Regions from separate parts of the Homo sapiens genome. Here region 1 is linked to region 2. Evidence: promoter capture Hi-C in human tissues and cell types (Jung and others, 2019). All regions are on one chromosome and are shown on one strand. Each heading gives the region's core, a stretch centred on a gene start or on the middle of the fragment in contact. The rest is flanking DNA. Distances are from core to core; before and after follow the strand shown. Region 1 holds the start of GCHFR (GTP cyclohydrolase I feedback regulator). Region 2 overlaps KNL1 (kinetochore scaffold 1).

Region 1 (4,378 bases), core at 1,879-4,378, 130 kb after region 2:
AAAACTGCAATTTGGTTCCACTACATCCCGACCAATATAGTATAGTTTTATTTCATTTTCACCTTCCCCTTTCCTTTGCTGTACATACAGTAATGGGTATGTGTGCACCAGCGTATTGCATTTGTGTTTTTGTTTGTTTTTTTGTAAAATGGCCAATGGTGTGTTCTGATTGACATCAGGTGGAGATGGGACTGGGAAAAATACTGCTTCTGTGAAAATACCCCCTTTCTCCATTCTTGGCATGCTCATTCAGCTCTTATCTTTTTTTCATATATTTATTTTAGATGAAGTCTTGCTCTGTTGCCCAGGCTGGAGTGCAGTGGTGTAATCTTGGCCCACTGCAGCCTCCGCCTGCCAGGTTCAAGCGGGACTACAGGCATGTGCTACCACATCTGACTTTTTTTTTTTTTTGAGACAGAGTCTCACTCAGTCACCCAGGCTGAAGTGCAGTGGCATGATCTCAGCTCACTGCAACCTCTGCCTCCTTGGTTCAAGCGATTCTCCTGCCTCAGCCTCCCGAGTAGCTGGGACTACAGGTGTGTGCCACCACGCCCAGCTAATTTTTGTATTTTCAGTAGGACAGGGTTTCACCATGTTAGCCAAGCTGGTCTCGAACTCCTGAACTCAAGTGATCCACCCACCTCGGCCTCCCAAAGTGCTGGGATTACAGGCATGAGCCACCGTGCCCGGCTCAGCTCTTGTCTCTATATTCCAGTGAGTTATATTTTGCTCTGTTTTAACTAAAAAATGACAACATAAAAATCCTTCCATACTTTATTCAACTGAAGAATTTTAATGTTTTTCATTTATCATTGTAAAAACCAAGGACAATTGTATAACTTAAAAAAATCCTTCTAATCAGTGGATGATTTTTGTACATAGCTTTCACATGTAGGGTAATCTGTCTTTAAGTAGGGATAAATTACTTAAAAATAAACCAAATCATGGCTCACTGCAGCCTCAACCTTCTGGGCTCAAGCGATCCTCCCACCTTGGCCTCCCAAAGTGCTTAGATTACAGGCGTGAGCCACTGTGTCTACAAAGTCTTGGGGTTTAAATAAATTTGGTTAAAATGAAAAAAAGTAAAATTGACTTTAATTTGTATTTCCTGTATTTCTAATGATATACTAGGCATCATGTTATATGTTTATTGGTCATTTCTATTTCCTCTTTTGTGAAGGGCCTATTCAAGTCAGTTACCCCTGTTTTTTCCATTGTTCATCTTTTTCTCACTGAGTTGTAGGAGCTCCTGGGCATCAATCTTTTGTTAGTTTTTTTTTTTTTTTTTTTTTTTGAGACGAAGTATTGCTCTGCCCCAGGCTGGAGTGCAGTGGCCCAACCAATCTCGGCTCACTGCAAGCTCCGCCTCCCAGGTTCACGCCATTCTCCTGCCTCAGCCTCCCGAGTAGCTGGAACTACAGGCGGCCCCCACCACGCCCGGCTAATTTTTTGTACTTTTAGTAGAGACGGGGTTTCACTGTGTTAAGCCAGGATGGTCTCGATTTCCTGACCTCGTGATCCGCCCGCCTCGGCCTCCCAAAGTTCTGGGATTAGCAGCGTGAGCCACCGCGCCCGGCCCTTTCGTCAGTTTTAACACATCCTTTGTTAAGCATGAATGTGTTTTATCTCTCTGGCTAACTTGTTAGGTCAGTGGGTAAGAGGGCAGGGGTAGGAACTACAGAATAATAAATTAGACCAGTTAAGGAACGTTTAGGATTACAACTTCCTGCTTCCCTTATAGCTCTCTCCACGTCTGTCAAAGTGTTGGAACGGCAGCATCCCCTATAAAGGCCCCTCTTAAAAAGTGAAGATTATTACCCTCCCATGGGAGGGAAGGCTACCTACAGGCTGTTTTTGTTTTGCTTTATTTTCTAGAAAACCAATCACAGGCCGGATGCGGTGGCTCACGCCTGTAATCCCAGCTCTTTGGGAGGCCAAGGCGGGTGGATCACCTGAGGTCGGGAGTTCGCCACCAGCCTGACCAAAATGGAGAAACGCCGTCTCTACTAAAAATACAAAATTAGCCGGGCGTCGTGGCGCAGGCCTGTAATCCCAGCTACTCAGGAGGCTGAGGCAGGATAATCGCTTGAACCTGGGAGGCGGAGATTGCGGTGAGCGGAGATCGCGCCATTGCGCTCCGGCCTGGACAATAAGAGCGAAACTCCATGTCCAAAAAAAAAAAAAAAAAAGAAAAGAAAAAAGAAAACCAATCACAACAAGGCAGATAAAGAAGGATGAGTTGTCAGATTTTGATAACTGCGGATGAGGGGCGTGGACACACGGTTGGGAACTCGCAGCCGCTCATTGGTGGCTGGTGCGGGGGAAGTTGTTTCATTTGCCCCAGGTGTTGCCCAGTGACCTCCTGCGCGTGCGCCGCGTCTGTCCAGCTGCGCGGGAAGCTCAGGGGAGGGAAGGCCAGGTTCCATCCATTCAGTCACTCCAGACCTGGCACCCAGCCAAGCGCGCGGTTCCTTTACAGACTTTCCTGCGGGTCCACAGAAATGCAAGGATCCGCCTCTGTGCTGGAATTAGAGTCTGGGAGGGGGAATGCACAGTGCGCCCTGGGTGGTATTTTAGTTGTCGCCTTCAGGGCTAGCTCCGAGCCTCGTGCCCCGGCCTCCTCAGCGCTTAAGGAATCTCTGGAGCGCATGTCTTGGCGAGGGGAAGTGGGGCCCCGTTGAAGCTGTCGAGGCGTCTCTGAGAGGGGTGGGCTGGGGCCTGGAGAGGCCTCCGTGAGGACGCCGTTTGCTCTGGGCTCTGCCTGGCAGGGGACTTTGGAACCTGGCCTGAAGTGTTCAAGAAGCGGGCGCGGGGGCAACACGCGCGCGGGGACGCAGTAAGATCACAGGCTGCAAAGAAAACAGCACTAAGCGTCCTGGAGGACGCTGGAGCTTCAGGATAGTGTCCTTCCAGGTCGTGGGACCGCCCCCTCCTCCCCGCACTCCACCTTCCCGCAACTGGATCACTCGGCGGAAGCCTCAGGTGGGCCCCGGGGTCCAAGTCCGCCGCCGGGAGGGCGGGGGCGGGCCCCGAACCGCCGACTGCAGGGCGCGTCACGGCAGCCGCTCCTGATTGGCGGCCACGGCGGTCACGGGCAAGGTGCCCCGGGATTGACGCCGCCTGTGGCCAGAGCCGGAGTAACGGGACTCCCAGCTGCGCGTCGCAGTCCCGACGCGAGAAGGGCTGGAGTCGGCGTCCAGCCTAGAGCCCCCGGTGGGAGCCAGGCCGGGACGCGTGCACCATGCCCTACCTGCTCATCAGCACCCAGATCCGCATGGTGAGTACCGGCCGCCTGGCGACTTGGAGCCGGGACCAGGCCCTAGGGGGCTGCGACTGCACCTTCATGCCTCCCTCCTGGGCTGCACCCACCGGGGACTGGACCGGGAACCCGCCCAGACACGCCCCCTTGGCCGGGGAGAGGGAGTGGAGAAGCGGGCTCAGCTCGGCTTCCGGGACTCAGCGAGCTCTGGCCGGCCTGAAGCCTTTATTGCCGCGAAGGGGCCCGGGTACGTGCGTCCCGGCAACAGGGCGACCTCCGGGCGCTTCCGGCTCCTGTCCTACCTGTCGGCGGGAGAGACCCAGGGAGCCCTGGCCTCACGCGCAGCACCTAGTGCCCTGCACAGAGCCGCTCCGCAGGGGAAAAAAGGGCGAATAACCTGAGAGAAAGAGGTTTGGAAAAGATAAGGACCTGCCAAGGCGCTAAAACCCCGGTGCCAAGTCCTTGACCCATAAACAGCAACTAGCTGCACCCTTAGGCACTTCCAGGAAGGGCTATCCCTGAAGCTTTAGGGAAGGAAGAAAAGAAAGAACACCCTGCTTGGAAAAAAGGAAGGCGAGAAGGGGCTGTGCAGTTAGAGGTGGGAACACCATGAGTTAGAAGTCACGTTCCTTTCTCTGGGCGCAGTTTCCTTATCTGTAAAAAGGTTCTGATTGCCCCTCAGGAGTCCCCTTTTAGCTTCAGAAAGACATGACGGGCAGCAAGGTGCTCTCTGCCCTTGCTCACTGCCCAGTGCTGGGGTGAACCAGCAAAGGGTACACAACCCCCTTGGTGGGTTCACCACGCAACAGAGAGCTCTTGCAGAGCCCTGGGCAGCGGTTTGTGAAGCAGCCATCTGCTCAGCTGCCAAAATGTGGATTCCTGGGTCCCTTCCCAGACCTCCTAAAACTCTGTCTGGGGCTTGGGAACCCATACTTGGAAATGGCCCCCCAAAGTGATTCTTATTTCTTAAAAGATATGGCTTTATTGATATGTAATGTGCATACCATAAATTCTTTGATTTAAAGTGTACAATTCAGTGTTGTTGTTTCTTTAGTGTACTCAGAGTTGTGCAACCATCACCATAATCAGTTTTAGAACATTTCTAATACCCCAAAAGGA
Region 2 (4,250 bases), core at 790-3,289:
ACAGCAGGAGGTGAATGGTGGTGGAGTGAGCAAAGCTTCATCTGTATTTACAGCCACTTCCCATTGCTTGCATTACCAACTGAGCTCTGCCTCCTTTCAGATCAGCAGTGGCATTACGTTCTCACAGAAGCACGAACCCTATTGTGAACTGCACACATGAAGGATCTAGATTGTGTACCCCTTATGAGAATCTAATGCATGATGATCTGTCAGTGCCTCCCCACCCCGAGATGGGACCCTCTAGTTGCAAGAAAATCATCTTAGGGCTCCCACAGATTCTATATTATGATGAGTTGTATAATTATTTCATTATATATTACAATGTAGTAATAATAGAAATAAAGTTCAGACTGGGCATGGTGGCTCACACTTGTAATCCCAGCACTTTGGGAGGCCCAGGCAGACAGATCGCCTGAGCTTAGGAGTTCAAGACCAGTCTGGCCAACATGGCTGAACCCGTCTCTAAAACAATACAAAAATTAGCTGGGCATGGTGGCACACACCTGTAGTCCCCGCTACTCAGGAGGCTGAGGTGGGAGGATGGCTTGAGCCCAGGAAGTGAAGGTTGCATTAAGCCAAGATTGCACCACTGCACTCCAGCCTAGGCAACAGAGCCGGACCCTGTCTCAAAAAATAAAAATAAAAATAAATAAAAATAAAATAAAAACAAGGAAGTTCACAATAAATGTGCTTGAATCATCCTGAGACTATCCCCTCTTCCTGGTCCTTGGAGGAATTGTCTTCCATGAAACTGGTCCCTGGTGCCAAAAAGGTTGGGGACTGCTGTTGTAGACAACATAGTTGGGTAAAAAAAAAACAGGAAACACTTCTAGATAACTCCTAGATCAAAGAAGTCGAAAATATTTCTTAGTAAAGGAGAATATTTAATGGCTAGTCTGTGGGACATACAGCAAAAGCTATACTTAGCAGGAATTAAAAGCCTTAGATATCTTTGTTGTCGTGGAGTCTAAAATTAAAGAAATTTTTATTTATTTATTTTTTATTTTTAGAGACGAGATCTTGCTATGTTGCCCAGACTGGTCTTGAGCTCCTGGGCTTAAGCAGTCCACCCACCTTGGCCTCCTAAAGTGCTAGGATTACAGGCATGAGCCACCGTGCCCAGCCAAGATATTAATACTCATAATATCCACAAAAAAGATAGGAAGATAGAATTAATATAGGTAAAAAGTAGAGCTAATGAAATAGAAAACAAAAATTGTTGGAGAGGATAAATCCAGGCCAGGCATGGTGGCTCACACCTGTAATTTCAGCACTTTGAGAGACCAAGGCGAGAGGAATGCTTGAGCTCAGGAGTTTGAGACCAGCCTCGGGAAAATAGGGAGACCCTGTTTCTACAGAAAATTTTAAAATTAGCCAAGTGTAGTGGCCTGTGCCTGTGGTCCCAACTACTCAGGAGGCTGTCATGGGAGGATCTCTTGAGCCCAGGGGTTCAAGGCTGCAGTGAGCTATGATTGTACCACTGCCCTCCAGCCTGGTCAACAGAACAAGACCCTATCTCAAAAAAAAAAAAAAAAGAATAAATCCAAAAGCTATACTTTGAAAAGACAATAAAATAAGAAAACTCCTGAAGAGTCTAATTAAGAAGAAATAAGCAGCTGCGCACAGTGGCTGGTGTCTGTAATTCTAGCTATGTGGGAGGCTGAGGAGGGAAGATCACTTGAAACCAAGAGTTCAAGACCAGCCTGGGCAACATAGCGAGACCCCCCCCCACCCACATCTTTTAATTAAATAAGTGAATGAAAAAAGAGAAAGCTAAAATATAGAAGATTAAGAAAGAAAACGTACTCATAGATTAAAAGAGACTAAAATAATTTTTTGTTGGGTGCCATGGCTCACATCTGTAATCCCAACACTTTGGGAGGCAGAGGCAGGAGGATTGCTTGACCCTAGGAATTTGAGACCAGACCAGGCAACAGGTGAAATCCTGTACAAAATGAAATAATTAGCCAGGCCTGGTAGCATGTGCCTGTAGTCCCAGCTACTCGGGAGGCTGAAGTGGGAGTATGACTTGAGCCCAACAGGCAGAACTTGCAAGGAGCCAAGATTGTACCACTGCACTCCAGCCTTGGAGATAGAGCCGGACCCTGTCTCAAAAAAAAACGAAGAAAGTGAAAAGGCAACCCACAGAATGTGAGAAAACAGTTGAAATCATACATCTGATAAGAAGCTTTATCCAAAATATATAAAGAACTCTTACAACTCAATAATAAAAATACAATCCAATTTAGGCCTGGCTTGGTAGCTCATGCCTGTAATCTTAGCACTTTGAGGGGCCTAGACTAGAGGATTGCTTGAGCTCAGGAGTTTGAGACCAGCCTGGGCAACATAGTGAGACCCCATCTCTATTTAAATAAATAAATAAAACATAGTGAGACTCTGTCTCTATTTAAATAAATAAATAAAATACGACCCAATTTAAAAATGATCAAAGGATCTGAAAAGATATTTTTCCAAAGAACAGTCATGTACTGCGTAAGGACGTTTTGGTTAACAACGGACCACATATACACAGGGGGTCCCATAGGATTTTTATGGAGGCCAGGCATCGTGGCTCACACCTATAATTCCAGTGCTTTGGGAGGCCAAGGCAGGTGGGTCATTTGAGGCCAGGAGTTTGAGACCAGCCTGGCCAACATGGTGAAACCGCATCTCTACAAAAATTACAAAAGTTAGCCAGGCATGATGGCGCGTGCCTGGAGTCCCAGCTACTGAATCGCTTGAACCCAGGAGGCGGAGGCTGCAGTGAGCTGAGGTCACGCCACTGCGCTCCAGCCTGGGCGACAGAGCGAAACTCTGTCTCAAAAAAAAAAAAAAAAAAAATTGTAATGGAGCTGGAAAATTCCTATTGCCTAGTGACATTGTAATGTAGCACAACACATTACTCACATGTTTGTGGTGATGCTAATGTAAACAAACCTGCGCTGCCATTCCTGTTAAAGGGTAGTACATATAATTATGTACAGTAACATAATACTTGATAATGATAACAGACCATTAGGTTGCTGTCTTATGTATTTACTATACTATACTCTTTATTGTTATTTTATTTTTTTGAACCAGAATCTCACTTTGTCACCCAGGCCAGAGTGCAGTGACCTTGGCTCACTGCAGCTTCAACCTCCTGTGCTCAAGGGATTCTCTTGCCTCAGCCTCCCAAGTAGCTAGGATTATATGCACAAGCCACCACACCTGGCTAATTTTTAAATATTTCTTAGAGATGGGGTCTCGGTATGTTGACCAGGCTTGGTCTCAAATTCCTGGCCTCAAGCAATCCTATTTTGCCTCTCAAAGTGCTGGGATTGCAGGTGCAAGCCACCATGCCCAGCCCTTATCGTTATTTTAGAGTATATTCCAACTTATAAATAAAACAAGTTAACTGTAAAACAGCCTCAGGCAAGTCCTTCAGGAGTTATTCCAAAAGAAGGCATTGTTATCATAGGAGATGATAGCTCCATGGGTGTTATTATTTCTCAAGACCTTCCAGTAGGACAAGAAGTGGAGGTGGAAGACAGTGATATTAATGATCTTGACCCTGTGTAGGCCTAGGCTAATGTGTGTGTTTGTATTTTAGGTTTTTGTTGTTGTTGTTGTTGTTTGTTTGTTTGTTTGTTTTGAGATGGAGTTTCTCTCTTACTGCCCAGGCTGGAGTGCAGTGGCATGATCTTGGCTCACTGCAACCTCCGACTCCCAGGTTCAAGCGATTCTTCTGCCTCAGCCTCCCAAATACCTGGGATTACAGGCACATGCCACCACACCTGGCCAATTTTTGTATTCTTAGTAAAGACAGGGTTTCACCCTTTTGGCCAGGCTGGTCTCGAACTCTTGACCTCGTGACCCGCCCACCTCAGCCTCCCAAAGTGCTGGGATTACAGGCATGAGCCACCACGCCTGGTGCGTGAATATACTTTAAAATTCGTTTAATTGTATACTTAAATGGATGGATTGCATTGTGTGTGGATTATATCTCCATAAAGCTGTTTAGAAACAAATCAATTACTGGAGAATTATATATTTGAATGTGAAAGGTAAATCAAGGATAGAAATTGGGAAGATGGGCACACAACTCTTTTGGGCCTCAGCCTCATTACCATGATAGCTGCCAGTAGAATCCTCTTGCCTCAGCTATAGATAGGGAGGAGAAAGGAGCTTAGGTGTGCATCCAGGGGCTGATACTCTTTCTACTTTTCTTATAAAGGGAAAGTAGAAAGAGTATTAGGAGACCAAGACCA

What was found. The method cuts DNA at HindIII sites, captures the fragments that hold promoters and counts their contacts. A contact is called where the count stands out against the background at its distance.
Region 1: a contact is called between the fragment with the promoter of GCHFR here and a fragment that was not itself captured in region 2, in 1 of the 25 tissues and cell types used here (thymus).

The regions. Positions count from the first base shown.
Region 1 is chr15:40,760,940-40,765,317 of GRCh38, forward strand. GCHFR (GTP cyclohydrolase I feedback regulator) reads left to right here and starts at 3,129. Exons shown (of 3, transcript NM_005258.3): 1 at 3,129-3,277. The coding sequence starts at 3,242. DNAJC17 (DnaJ heat shock protein family (Hsp40) member C17) reads right to left here. Exons shown (of 11, transcript NM_018163.3): 11 at 4,222-4,378. It overlaps LOC124903474 (a long non-coding RNA gene), which reads right to left and starts at 329. Exons shown (of 2, transcript XR_007064599.1): 1 at 1-329. RefSeq lists a silencer at 2,693-3,142 and an enhancer at 2,809-3,674. The HindIII fragment of the contact is 4,829 bases long and covers 1-4,378 here.
Region 2 is chr15:40,630,490-40,634,739 of GRCh38, forward strand. The region is part of intron 13 of KNL1 (kinetochore scaffold 1); the gene reads left to right. Among named protein-coding and RNA genes, the nearest start is that of KNL1, 38 kb to the left of the region's middle. The HindIII fragment of the contact is 5,341 bases long and covers 1-4,250 here.